Regions from separate parts of the Homo sapiens genome. Here all the other regions are linked to region 3. The links are contacts of gene promoters, found by promoter capture Hi-C in human tissues and cell types (Jung and others, 2019). All regions are on one chromosome and are shown on one strand. The core of a region is centred on a gene start or on the middle of the fragment in contact, and the rest is flanking DNA. Distances in the headings are between cores, read along the strand shown.

Region 1 (4,581 bases), core at 926-3,425, 43 kb before region 3:
AAACCCATGCCTCCTGACTGGGAGACACCTCCCAGCAGGGGTCAACAGACACCTCATACAGGAGAGCTTGGGCTGGCATCTGGTGGGTACCCCTCTGGGACAAAGCTTCCAGAAGAAGTAGCAGGCAGCTATCTTTGCTGTTCTGCAGCCTCTACTGGTGATATCCAGGCAAACAGCATCTGGAGTGCACCTCCAGCAAACTCCAGCAGACCTGCAGAAGAGGGGCCTGACCATTACAAGGAAAACTAACAAACAGAAAGCAATAGCATCAATATTAACAAAAAGGACAACCACGCAAAAACCCTATCAGAAGGCCATCAACATCAAAGACTAAAGGTAGATAAATCCACGAAGATGAGGAAAAACCCATGCAAAAAGGCTGAAAATTGCAAAAACTAGAATGCCTCTTCTACAAAGGATCACAACTCCTTGCCAGCAAGGGAACAAAACTGGACAGAGAATGAGTTTGACGAATTGACAGAAGTAGGCTACAAAAGGTAAGTAATAGCAAACTCCTCCAAGCTAAAGGAGCATGTTCTAACCCAATGCAAAGAAGCCAAGAACCGTGATAAAAGGTTACAGGAACTGCTAACTAGAATAACCAATTTAGAGAAGAACATAACTGATGTGATGAAGCTGAAAAACACAGCACGAGAACTTTGTGAAGCATACAAAAGTATCAACAGCTGAATCAATCAATTGGAAGAAAAGTTATCAGAGACTGAAGATCAGCTTAATGAAATAAAGCACAAAGACAAGATTAGAGAAAACAGAATGAAAAGGAATGAACAAAGCCTCCAAGAAATATGGGACTATGTGAAAAGACCAAACCTACGTTTGATTGGTGCACCTGAAAGTGATGGGGAGAATGGAATCAAGTTGGAAAACACACTTCAGGGTATTATCCAGGAGAACTTCCCGAACCTAGCAAGACAGGCCAACATTCAAATTCAGGAAATATAGAGAACACCACAAAGATACTCCTCAAGAAGCTCAACCCCAAGATACATAATCATCAGATTTACCAAGGTTGAAATGAAGGAAAAAAATGTTAAGGGCAGCCAGAGAGAAATGTTGGGTTACCCACAAAGGGAAGCCCATCAGACTAAGAGCTAATCTATCTGCAGAAACCCTACAAGCCAGAAGAGAGTGGAGGCCAATATTCAACATTCTTATAGAAAAGAATTTTCAACCTAGAATTTCATATCCAGCCAAGCTAAGCTCCATAAGTTAAGGAGAAATAAAATCCTTTACAGACAAACAAATGCTGAGAGATTTTGTCACTACCAGGCCTGCCATACAAGAGCTCCTGAAGGAAGCACTAAATATGGAAAGGAAAAACCGGTATCAGCCACTGCAAAAACATACCAAAGTGTAAACGCTATTGACACTATGAATAAACTGCATCAACTAATATGCAAAAAAACCAGCTAGCATCATAATGACAGGATCAAATTCACAGATAACAATGTTAACCTTAAATGTCAATGGGCTAATGCCCCAATTAAACGACACAGACCAGAAATTGGATAAAGAGTCAAGACCCATCAGTGTGCTGTATTCAGGAGACCCATCTCATGTGAAAAGACACATATAGGCTCAAAATAAAGAGATGGAGGAACATTTACCAAGCAAATCAAAGTAAAATAAAGCAGGGGTTGCAATCCTAGTCTCTGATAAAACAGACTTTAAACCAACAAAGATCAAAAAAGACAAAGAAGGGCATTACATAATGGTAAAGGGATTGATGCAACAAGAAGAGCTAACTATCCTAAATATACATGCACCCAATACAGGAGCACCCAGATTCATAAAGTAAGTGCTTAGAGACCTACAAAGAAACTTAGACTCCCACACAATAATAGTGGGACCAAGTGGAACTAATAGACATCTACAGAACTTCTCCACTCCAAATCAACAGAATATACATTCTTCTCAGCACCACGTCGCACTCATTCTAAAACTGACCACATGATTGGAAGTAAAACACTCCTCAGCACATGCAAAAGAGTGGAAATCATAACTAACAGTTTCTCAGACCACAGTCCAATCAAATTAGAACTCAGGATTAAGAAACTCACTCAAAACCGCACAACTACATGGAAACGGAACACCTGAATGACTACTGGGTAAATAATGAAATGAAGGCAGAAATAAATAAGTTATTTGAAACCAAAGAGAACAAAGACACAACATACCAGATTCTCTGGGACACAACTAAAGCAGTGTTTAGAGGGAAATTTATTGCAAATTTCCCTCTAAAGCAGGAAAGATCTAAAATTGACACCCTAACATCACAATTAAAGAACAAGAGAAGGAAGAGCAAACAAATTCAAAAGCTAGCAGAAGACAAGAAATAACTAGGATCAGAGCAGAGCTGAAGGACATAGAGACATGAAAAACTCCTCAATAACTCAAAAAGTACAGGAGGTGGTTTTTGGAAAAGATTAATAAAATAGATAGACCACTAGCCAGACTAATAAAGAAGAGAAGAGAGAAGAATCAAATAGACACAATAAAAAATGATAAAGGGGACATCACCACTGATCCCACAGAAAAACAAACTACCATCAGAGAATACTTTAAACACCTCTGTGCAAATAAACTAGAAAATTTAGAAGAAATAGATAAATTCCTGGACACATACTCCCTCCCAAGACTAAACCAGGAGGAAGTCAAATCCCTGAATAGACCAATAACAAGTTCTAAAATTGAGGCAGTAATCAATAGCCTACCAACCAAAAAAAGCCCAAGGACCAGACGGACTCACAGCCAAATTCTACCAGAGGTACAGAGGAGCTGGTACCATTCCTTCTAAAACCATTCTAAACAATAGAAAAAGAGGAACTCCTCCCTAACTCATTTTATGAGGCCAGCATCATCCTGATACCAAAACCTAGCAGAGACACAACAAAAGAAGAAAATTTCAGGCCAATATCCCTGATGAACATCGATGTGAAAATCCTCAATAAAATATTGGCAAACCAAACCCAGCAGCACATTAAAAATCTTATTCACCATGATCAAGTCAGTTTCATCCTTAGGACATAAGGCTGGTGCAACATATGCAAATCAATAAACATAATCTATCACATAAATGGAACCAATGACAAAAACCACATGATTATATCAATAGATGCAGAAAAAGCCTTTGATAAAATTCAACACCCCTTCATGCTAAAAACACTCAATAAACTAGGTATTGATGGAACATATCTCAAAATAATAAGAGCTTTTTATAACAAACCCATAGCCAATATCATACTCAATGGGCAAAAGCTAGAAGCATTCCCTTTGAAAACTAACACAAGACAAGGATGCCCTCTCTCAGCACTCCTATTGAACATAGTATTGGAAGTTCTAGCCACAGCAATCAGGCAAGAGAAAGAAATAAAGCATATTCAATTAGGAAGAGAGGAAGTCAAATTATCTCTGTTTGCAGATGACATGCTTGTATATTTAGAAAACCCCATCATCTCAGTCCAAAAACTCCTTAAGCTGATGAGCAACTTCAGCAGTCTCAGGATACAAAATCAATGTGCAAAAATCTCAAGCATTCATATACACCAATAATAGACAGAGAGCCAAGTCATGAGTTAACTCCCATTAACAATTGCTACAAAGAGAATAAAATACCTAGGAATACAACTTACAAGGGGTGTGAAGGACCTCTTCAAGGAGAACTACAAACTACTGCTCAACGAAATGAGAGGACACAAACAAATGGAAAAACATTCCATGCTCATGGATAGGAAGAAACAATATTGTGAAAATGGCTATACCGCCCAAAGTAATTTATAGATTGAATGCTCTTCCTATCAAGCTACCATTGACTTTCTTCACAGAATTTTTTTAAAAACTACCTTAAATTTCATATGGAAGCCAAGAAGAGCCCATGTAGCCAAGACAATCCTAAGCAAAAAGAACAAAGCTGGAGGCATCACACTACCTAACTTCAAACTATACTGCAAGGCTACAGTAACCAAAACAGCATGGTACTGGTACCAAAACAGATATATAGACCAATGGAACAGAACCGAGGCCTCAGAAATAACATCACACATCTACAACCATCTGATCTTTGACAAAACTGACAAAAACAAGCAATGGGGAGAGGATTCCCTATTTAATAAATGGTGTTGGGAAAACTGGCTAGCCATATGCAGAAAACTGAAACTGGACCCCTTCCTTACACCTTATACAAAAATTAACTCAAGATGGATTAAAGATTTGAACATAAGACCTAAAACTATAAAAAAAATACCCTAAAAGAAAACCTAGACAATACCATTCATGACATAGGCATAGGCAAAGACTTCATGATTAAAACACCAAAAGCAATTGCAACAAAAGCCAAAATTGTCAGATGGGATCTAATTAAACTAAAGCACTTCTGCACAGCAAAAGAAAGTATCATCAGAGTGAAGAGGCACCCTACAGAATGGGAGAAAATTTTTGCAATCTATCCATCTGAGAAAGGGCTAATATCCAGAATCTATAAGGAACTTCAACAAATTTACAAGAAAAAAACAAACAACTCCATCAAAAAGTGGGTGAAGGATATGAACAGACACTTTTCTT
Region 2 (4,437 bases), core at 1,916-4,415, 47 kb after region 3:
GAATTAAACTTAAGAGGCATCAAATATAATTCATAAAGCTAATAACAATCAAGGATTTTTCAACCTCTTTTATCTATATGTTGAGTAACAACACATATAGTTAAAAAAAAGTAAATAAATTGAAATATAGGCATATAGCAAGAATCAGAAGCTATCCATTCTGAATGGTCTAGTATATCAGTTTCTATTACTGTTTTTGTGGATAGTTTTTGCCTCTGAAAAGCTAAATCACACCTAATAGGATCATGATTTAGAGAAGACCTCAATTTTTATACATGATAATGACATGATGTCAGAAAACATTCAACTTCAAATTTATGACAGATAAAAACTCCGTATTTTAACAGCCATGTTTAGTTTTTCTGCTGGTGAGCAGATATAAATGTAATCTGCACTACTATCAAACTCCAGGTCTGATAGATAACAAGCTAATATTTATTTCTAAGTACTCTAAAAATTATTTGTAAAACCTGCATAAAAAGGATTGCATAAATATATTGTGATTTTATTTTAACAATTATTCTACACTACAATGGAAGTACATGCTCAAACAAGACACCTCAGCAGTATTTTAAAGCAGTAACCACCTAGCCAATTTCTGTATGTCTGTAGTTTTTCTAATCCACTCTCCCTGTGGTTGAGCAAAATCGAATTGCCTCTCACATTTGCAGACAGCTCTGTGAAGGTGATAATAGAGCTGCTCCCTGCTGTCATGAGGCAGGAAATAGGAAAATGGCATATGGGGCTAGAAAGAAAGAAATAAAAAAAAAAAAGAAAGAATGAATGAACAAAAAAAGAGAAAGAGAACTAAACAAGAACAAAAGGGGTTTCAACAAAGAACTATAACCCAATATGCTTTGCAAGTTAATCTGTTTTCAGAATTATTTAGCATATTTAATCATTCATTTGCGTCCTCACTCCAAAAACGTGAATGGTTGATACCAAGTCTTTGGGCAAGTTTTCATTGTCTAAAATATTTGGAAAACACACCTCCAGAATATGTCCTGCATAATGTCTGCAAAACAATGCCCTTTAAATAGATTTTTAAAATGTTGTGCCAATTCCAAATTCATCATTTGAAAATAAAGGTAAAGCAATGTTTATTTAAATATTAATAAAATGTTTATAGCAGGCTTTGAGTATGGTTTAACTTTCCTAATTTTATGAAATTCAAAAAATTTAAAGATAAATATTCAGGAAAATTACACAATAAGTGATTAAAGAAGAAATCTCTAAATAAATTGCTAATAATACCAAGACACAGTTATCAACTTGTACAGTTTTTTTGTTTTTTAAGTAAACAGACAGCAGCTTTCTGTGTAATTAAGAATCCTGCTTTGAACAAAATTGATTTTTATTTAATGTATCTGTAAACAGAATGTGGCAGTAGATGGCAATAAAGATAGAATCTACTCTACCTTTCCTTTTACACTCTGAATGGGATCCACAACCACTGCCACAGCTCTCTCCGACAAGGCTTCAAAGCTCTGCTGAGTGTTGATATCCACACCAGAAAGCCAACAACCAAAGCCAGGGTGACTGTGATACCAACCAACAACCATCTCCGGCCTGAAACAAAGAGGGCATTCAGATGCTCAGAACAGAACAAGTAATACATTTATGATATGAAAAGAAACAACACACTAACGGGGTATAAATTAAGAAGAGATGAAAAACACACAGGTGTGAAAAAGCACCATTAGAAACCCTGAAATTGTACACCATATTATCCAGAAAACATGGAAATGAATATGTGTGACAAAGGAGTGCTATCATTAAGAGATGCACATTAGCAGTGGTAGATAAGGCTTTCAGTTTTTCACCTTGTTACCACAGTTTCTCAGAGCCAGTTTTTACCCTTTCAGCATTCAAGTAAATATCTACTCTTTAACTCCTTAGCTCTGGGAGTTGGATTTTCCAGGCACAGAGTACATTTTTAACAATGGACACCAGGATCCACTGTTGTGAAAGGATTAAATATCAATTAAACCAGCAGTAGAACTAGGAACTCAGTCAAAAACCAATTTGCACTGTTCTGCTCAGCTGCTGAGCCTTTTGCTAACATTAATTTTGAAGTTGTTTCCACAGCAGAAGAATTTGAGCAAGAGAATGACAACTATTGAGAGATTTGGTCTGAGGAAAAAACTTTAGAATATTTGGATTATACTTTCTCTGTCTTTAAAACTATGCCTACAAACATAATTAAATATTCATAATCTCATTCAGTTGCAACTCTCAAATACATGGAACATACAAGCTCTTTCAATTATAAGTGACTAGACAGTAACTCCATATGCTAAACAGAGGGAAGCTACAGCCCAAGCTTACTATGTGACAGTCAAGAATTTTAACATGAGGCAGTTCTCTGATGGGCAAATTTCTCTGGTTCTAAAGGGAAGATATACTAGACAGGTGGTGCATGGCACTGATATTTACAGATACTTTTATGTCAATTACATAACCACTTTTTCTAGAAATGACATTGATAAACATCTATAACTTTGAGGTATGTTTCTATAAATATTTCCCATTATTTCTTTAACTGATCATTTAAAATGCTTACCTTCCTGTCTGCTTCAACATATCCAACATTTTAGCTTGGAACACTGGATCAACTGCCTCCACACTGACACCCTGATTTAGAAAGAAAGAAAAATTATTAATTTTTGTAAATTTGGAAAAAAAGCTTCCCTATGTATATTATTTGGGGTTGCCAAAATCATTTTATAGGTTTTGATACCTACATTTGATACCTACTCAAGTCATTCAATTATAAACCTCATACCAATCAAGCTTCTAAAATTGCCAACTACCAAACTGCTGTTGGCGATCGAGTTAAGCCCACTTTCAGGATTCTTTAAGAGTATATGGCCATTGCTGTGTATATGTTTACCAGAAATACGAAATAATTGAACCAACCATAACTATTGGTTAGACCTATTTAGGCAAGCATACTTCCTAATGCCATCCTATCATAACTGATGACTAAAATGAGCCTCATCCAAAGTTCTACAAATATTCAGCTATCATAATGAAACAGCCTCAAGTCTCTTACATACAGCATTATTTTGCTAGTTCAACCAAAATAAGATATTTGAACAGGAAGAATTAAAAGGTTCAGATCATCTCTCTGGCGATAGAGTACTGTCTTTATAGCTCCCAAGGCTTTCTTCTAACCTCAGGAATCTAAATCTAATGTACTTAAAGAAACTAGTTAACATAAGCACTTCCTTCCCACCAAAACAAACAGTATGCATATTGAATTCCAACAGAGAGTACATCCTCAAGAACAGGGGTATGCAATCTGCTGCTTATAGGCTAAGAATGTTTTCGGTTTTTTTCTTTCTTTTCATATATATACTTTAAAAGGACTGTCTTAAAAAAGAAGAAGAATATGCAACAGAGACATATGTCTTTATAGAAAAAGTTTACTGACTCTGGGGTCAGAAGAAAAACTTTCTAATTCTATGACACTAGAAAATAGAATTAGAGTGAATATAGGGATCAAAATCTTTTATTTTATATTGTCAAACAAGCATTTACATGGAAGTAATGATATTAAAGCCTAAGAACAATGTATTATAATGGGTATCTACATAAGTACCCATAACATATATAAGTTAGTTTTATGTGTTTCATGTAGCCTAATATAAAAAGACAGATACAAGTAATAAATAGTCTAAGATTTAAATCTAAACCTTTGGTTAACATGTAGAGTGTTTCTCTATTTCCAAATGTATAAAATAAATATAATGGATATCAAGATGGATAAAATCAGTAGATCCAAATTAGTTTACCTCAACAAATTCATCTATTTAGAGAAAACTTTACATTATTTTAAATATATTGCATTCTGTAGCAAATATTCTATTTTAAATGCTTATTTTTAATATACATACTATATATATTACAGTACTTAAAATTGTAATTTGTTCTCCAGCATCTACCTTATCAAAGTAAACTTACAGAACTTCGAATAGAACTAACAGCTTTATAACAACAATTTCTTTAATCCTTCTTTTACAAGGCTCAGTAAGAGAAATATTGCCTAGCAAAGAAGAAATATCGCTTGGAAAAATACATGCATATTTTTCTAAGCAAACAGGTGAGAAGGATATATGTGCTTTTTTTGGAAGGTAGATGGAATGGTTATTGTTTTTTGGCTATTTTCTTTCAGTCAAAATGCACATCTATCAACACAAGTCTAATGCATCAAACAAAAAGGCAAAACAAAACAAACATCTCTAGAAAGAATAATGTATTCTATACAGGTAATTTGTATGGAGTACGGTGCATATAAACAAAATACCATGCCTGGGAAAAAAATATTCAGGTTTGCTATTGTTTTGTTTTGCTTTAACTTAACATTTTAAATAAGAAAAGCTTAAAAAGTCATTCATCACCATATATAGAACATTTTTTAAATGACATATTTCA
Region 3 (4,463 bases), core at 1,306-3,805:
AACGCGGTCGCTGTGCGCGTGGCTGTGTGCGCCCGGCTGCGCGCCCGGGCCGGCGGAGGCAGCCTGCAGCCCGCCTTCCAGGCTAACTGACCGCGGGACTCGCCTGGCTGGCGGCTGGCTGGCTGGGGCAGACCGGCTTTCGCACCTCTGGGAGCGAAGATAAGCCGGGGCACCGGAAAAAAGGGGGAAGCCGACCGCCCGATCCTCAGGGCCCTTCTCCTAGTCCTCCTGTAAGGAGGAACAAAGATTTCCACAACCTGCAGATCTTGTGGGGTTTCTTCTCAAAATCAATCAGTATTAGTACTTGGGAAGGTCGGGCACTCCAAAATTGGGCCGACGGAGGTGTTGCCAATGAGAACAACTTTACAGATTTAATATAAATTTGGAGGGTGGAAATACAATTTTTAAGTCTTTTTAATGAAGCAAAGAAACGTGTATCCAGTTCCATATGCTGCTTTACACTGACGAACTGGATGTCAGGGAGGAAGGGGTGAGAGAGAGAGAAAACACGAGCGCTTGAGCCACTGACCTGCCCATTGTTATTTGAAGCTCCTTTGTTGTTCGTAAGTTTTAATTTTCCAAAAGAGATTTCTTGGCGCATCCAGTGAGCCCCAGTGTTGGGGGAATCCGGATGCATATAGACCCGATTTCCTAGAGAAAGAAATACATTGTTTACATATGCCCCTGGCACTGCCCAGTCCCAGCTCCTCACCACGTAGGACACACACACACACACACACACACACACACACACATACACACACCTTACTCCACCATGAAGCCCATTAACTGGGGCTTTTTTAGGCCATTCTTTCTTCCTATTAACTGGGGGTGATTAAAATAGCTTTTGCATAATCCTCCCCCTTCTCGCAGCTCAGTCTGTCCCCCTGTCCCCCTCGTTTCCTTTTAGAAGTCATTGGCCGATCGTTTTAAAAGTCGCTCGAGCCAGTCCACAAAGGCTTTAATTAATCATTCTCACCTAAATAAGTGTCAAGAAAATGTGTTAATTGGAAGGACTTGCCTTGCACATTGGTGTCCGCTTTGCCGCAAGGAACCCATTTGCCTCCTTGAAACCTCCAGTGATTGGGATCCGCCAAAATCACATCCACAAAAATATTGTAATGAGCCGTGGGATCGAGACCAGAAATGTTAAAACTTAAAAAAGGAAACATGCGCCTATTTAAATTAAGGGGTGGGGGGAGAAAACAAGGAAAAAAGAAACATAAATGTTAAAGATTAAATGCAAGAAGCGGGGCGCCAGTTAGCAAAGCAAAACTTGTACTTGCAGCAAATAGGCGAATATTTGCTGGATTAGAAAAAGGGTGGTGGGAGAAGAAAAGAAGTGCAACCCAAATCAGGGAGAGCGGCGGGTGAGCTGGAGTGGGAAGGTGGCAGTTATCACTGCCCAGGTGGAGAGCGAGGTTGGCGACCTGCGTCTCCACCTGTCCGTGCATGCCAGTGTTGATGCGTCCCTCCCATCGCCCAGCCGCTGGCCAGGGCTCTTCCTTTTTCTTGCCTTCCTCTGGCCACTGACTGGCTCTCCCACTATGTTCCTAGAACGGGGTCCCCCCCACCAACATCACCCTGGCGGTTATCCCTTCCACTTTCCCCCTTTCCAAAACTAGCCAACTCTAGGGCGCCTTCCACTCCGCTCCCGACCCCAAATCGTCGCTGCCGCGGCAGTCACAGCCTAGGTGCACTTGTCCCCGGCTGCGCCTAGAGCAGCGGCAGCCAAAAATGTAGTATTACCTTCCCTGTTTGGTGATGATCATCTCCGTTTGGTGCCGGTGAAATTTCAGCCAAAGGGGCCTGTTGCACAGGTACACCTGTGCTTTGCCGGGCACCAGCCCCGGCTGGGTGGAGGAGAACTGGTAGAACGGAGCTCCTTGGTAGGAGTGGCCGTACTGCTGTGGGTAGGGGTAGCCGGCCGTGGGGTATCCCTGCGGCGAGGAGTTGGACAGGAGGCTGTTGTAGGCTCCGTTGGTGATGACCGGGTGGTGGGCCATGTAGCGGCTAGGGCTGCCGATGGAGAAGGCGGGGTGCGCCGGTCCGTGCTGGCCGGGGTACGGGAACATGGCACTGGGAGCAGTGGCCGCAGACTGTGGCTGGCTGGACTGAGAGAGGAGGTAGCGATCTGCAGCAGAGCCATCGAAACTGTGACGAAGCTCAGAGACCCCGTCCAAGACAGGAGAGAGTTTACTTCTCTGGACGTCCCCTGGTGAGTCCTTGGAGTCAGGAAAATTGTCTGTATCTGACTGATTCGTCATCCCCCTGGTAATTTTTTTCAAAGGTGAACTTCTCTCCAGGTTGTCAGTGGTCGAGATAATGGGATGATCGTGCAAGACAAGCTCGGATCCGCCTGAATGTGGGTAGCTGCTGCTCACATTGAGAAATTTCTTGGAGAGCATGATAGAAGGAGAAAGGCAGTGCTCCAGCTGCATAGCTCTAGAACCTGAACACTCGCCCTCCCGTCCCTGGTTTTTAAAGTCCTATTTATCATAAACTAGAAATCCACAGACCCCCTCACTAGACAGAAAGCACTTCAACCAGCAAATGCTTCTCAAAGGTTTGATTTACTTTTTTTTTTCCCTGGGAGAAGAGATTGGCCAATTGACACTATGCAGCAATCAGAAAAGGCTCACTTTTGATCTTGCTGCTTGTGCAGCCGATGAAACGGCTCCTGCCATTGGTTAGCTGCTGACAGTAATTTAATTAGATAGACATTAATTAGGATAATCACCTGGCTCCTGGTAGCGACGATCATGGCAAATTGAAGGGGATGATTTTATTGTTGGCTTGGGGGGTGGGGAATGTGTGTTGGTTTACGTGAGCACTGTTGTGTCACCTTTAAGCTCTGTGACCACTGCTTTAGGAAGATTCAAAGATGTGGAATTTACTAAACATTTCCTACCTTCCCCCCCTTCCCCCCTTTAGAGCGGAGGGGCGGAGGAGGGAATTCGACGATGCTAGGAGACTTTTCGGATCTGAATGAGCCAAATATTCAGTTGAATGTAACGATTTCAAGTGCAAAGTATACAAAGCGCGAGCCGGTGGCCTCTTCTCGCCCTGTAAAAGTTCCAGAGTCTGTCTTTTCCAGCTAATACAAAAGCACACAACACCTGAGCTGGTGCTTTGTGAGCAGATCCTACATGTCCTCGGCGCCCCCACCCCCACCTTTTAAACTGCAAACATAAATAAATAAATCCCTGCTGCTGAGAGCCACAGCGACAAGCAGAAGGGGGGAGGAGAGGGGGCGAAAAGCAGCAACTCACCCACCAATCCACCCACCTCAGGAAGGTTCGGTTTCTTGGTTGAGTACAGAAACAGTGACAATCTATGATCTCCTTTTTAAGTTTTGAAATAATCATAAGCTGTCGGGCTGAAATGCCTTAATGTATTTGCAGTGATGTTTACCGGCTCTTTATTAAATATTTTATCAGCGCACTTGGTTGCAGATTATCTGAAGAACATCTAACTGGGGGCAGGCGCCATGCATCCTTCTCGTCCCTCTGCATTTCCTTCTCTCTGAGGTACTGGCTTGGCGACAGGTTCAAAAGCCTCGCCAGGAAAAGAGAGGGCCGAGTCCCCGTGCAAATGGGCTCGTCAGAAGCGCTGATCTGGGGAGACAGAGTGGAAGTGGTGTCAACACAGTAATCGCTACTGAAAACGTGTGTGTGTGTGTACGTGTGTGTGTTTAATGTTTATATAATCTGGAGGGGAGAAAAAGCATCCATGCCAATAATTTTTAAAAGGAAAAAGAATCTAAAGAGGAATAGAAAAAAACCAATTTAAAAAGATGTTGGCACAAATAAATAGCACGAGGCCCGAAGAGACCCCGAGGTGTAGGGAGGAAGTCTCCCAGCACCGGCTCTACAGAGGAGCCCAGCCCTCGGCCTGAGCCAGAGGGCCAAGAGCGGCAGAGGCTTTTTATCTGCCCAAAGCTGCCTCCCGCGGCCCGGCGCTCGCTGACCTGCCCTCCCGCGGCTTTCCTCCCGGACGCCGAGCCGCGCGGGAATGAGCAGGAGGAGCGCCGCCCAGAGCTCCGCTCGGCCCCGAGAGCTGGCCGGCCCGAGGGCGGGCTCCGCCCGGGAGACTGAAGGAGCAAGGGGTGAGCTGCGTCTGGCGCAGACCCCAGGGGCACACGCTCTTCCCGGGCTGGAGGAGCGGCCTGGGCACCTCAGCCGGGGGAGCCTCTGGCTTCGAGCGAGCGCGTCTGTCCTACCCGGGCCGGGGCAGCTCCCGGAGTGAGAGCAGCGCCTGGGGACATTGGGTGGGTCCTGAGCATGGGCGGAGACGGGTTATCCAGACTCGCCGCTTCGCCACTGTGGTGCATTTTCAGAGCTGCGCCTCGGTGGGCCGAGCGGTCAGCGCTGAGCCGAGACTGCGCCCCTCCAGGCGGGCTGAGCGCCTTGGCTGCAGAGGGCACCAGCTGCGGCCTCCATCAACGCGCCGCGGGCAAGGCC

Evidence for each region. Contacts are between HindIII fragments. The study calls those that stand out against the background at their distance.
Region 1: a fragment that was not itself captured here is called in contact with the fragment with the promoter of TBR1 in region 3 in 1 of the 25 tissues and cell types used here (pancreas).
Region 2: a contact is called between a fragment that was not itself captured here and the fragment with the promoter of TBR1 in region 3, in 1 of the 25 tissues and cell types used here (H1 embryonic stem cells).

Annotation. Positions count from the first base shown.
Region 1 is chr2:161,457,297-161,461,877 of GRCh38, reverse strand. No RefSeq gene overlaps it. Among named protein-coding and RNA genes, the nearest start is that of TBR1, 43 kb to the right of the region's middle. The HindIII fragment of the contact is 4,589 bases long and covers 1-4,469 here.
Region 2 is chr2:161,368,304-161,372,740 of GRCh38, reverse strand. PSMD14 (proteasome 26S subunit, non-ATPase 14) reads right to left here. Exons shown (of 12, transcript NM_005805.6): 6 at 2,564-2,634; 7 at 1,419-1,569. Among named protein-coding and RNA genes, the nearest start is that of TBR1, 46 kb to the left of the region's middle. RefSeq lists an enhancer at 1-2,437. The HindIII fragment of the contact is 4,129 bases long and covers 1,101-4,437 here.
Region 3 is chr2:161,414,389-161,418,851 of GRCh38, reverse strand. It overlaps TBR1 (T-box brain transcription factor 1), which reads right to left and starts at 2,555. Exons shown (of 6, transcript NM_006593.4): 1 at 1,750-2,555; 2 at 1,022-1,176; 3 at 530-651. The coding sequence starts at 2,441. RefSeq lists enhancers at 1,807-2,429, 4,191-4,340 and silencers at 3,851-3,900, 3,971-4,140. The HindIII fragment of the contact is 6,943 bases long and covers 1-4,463 here.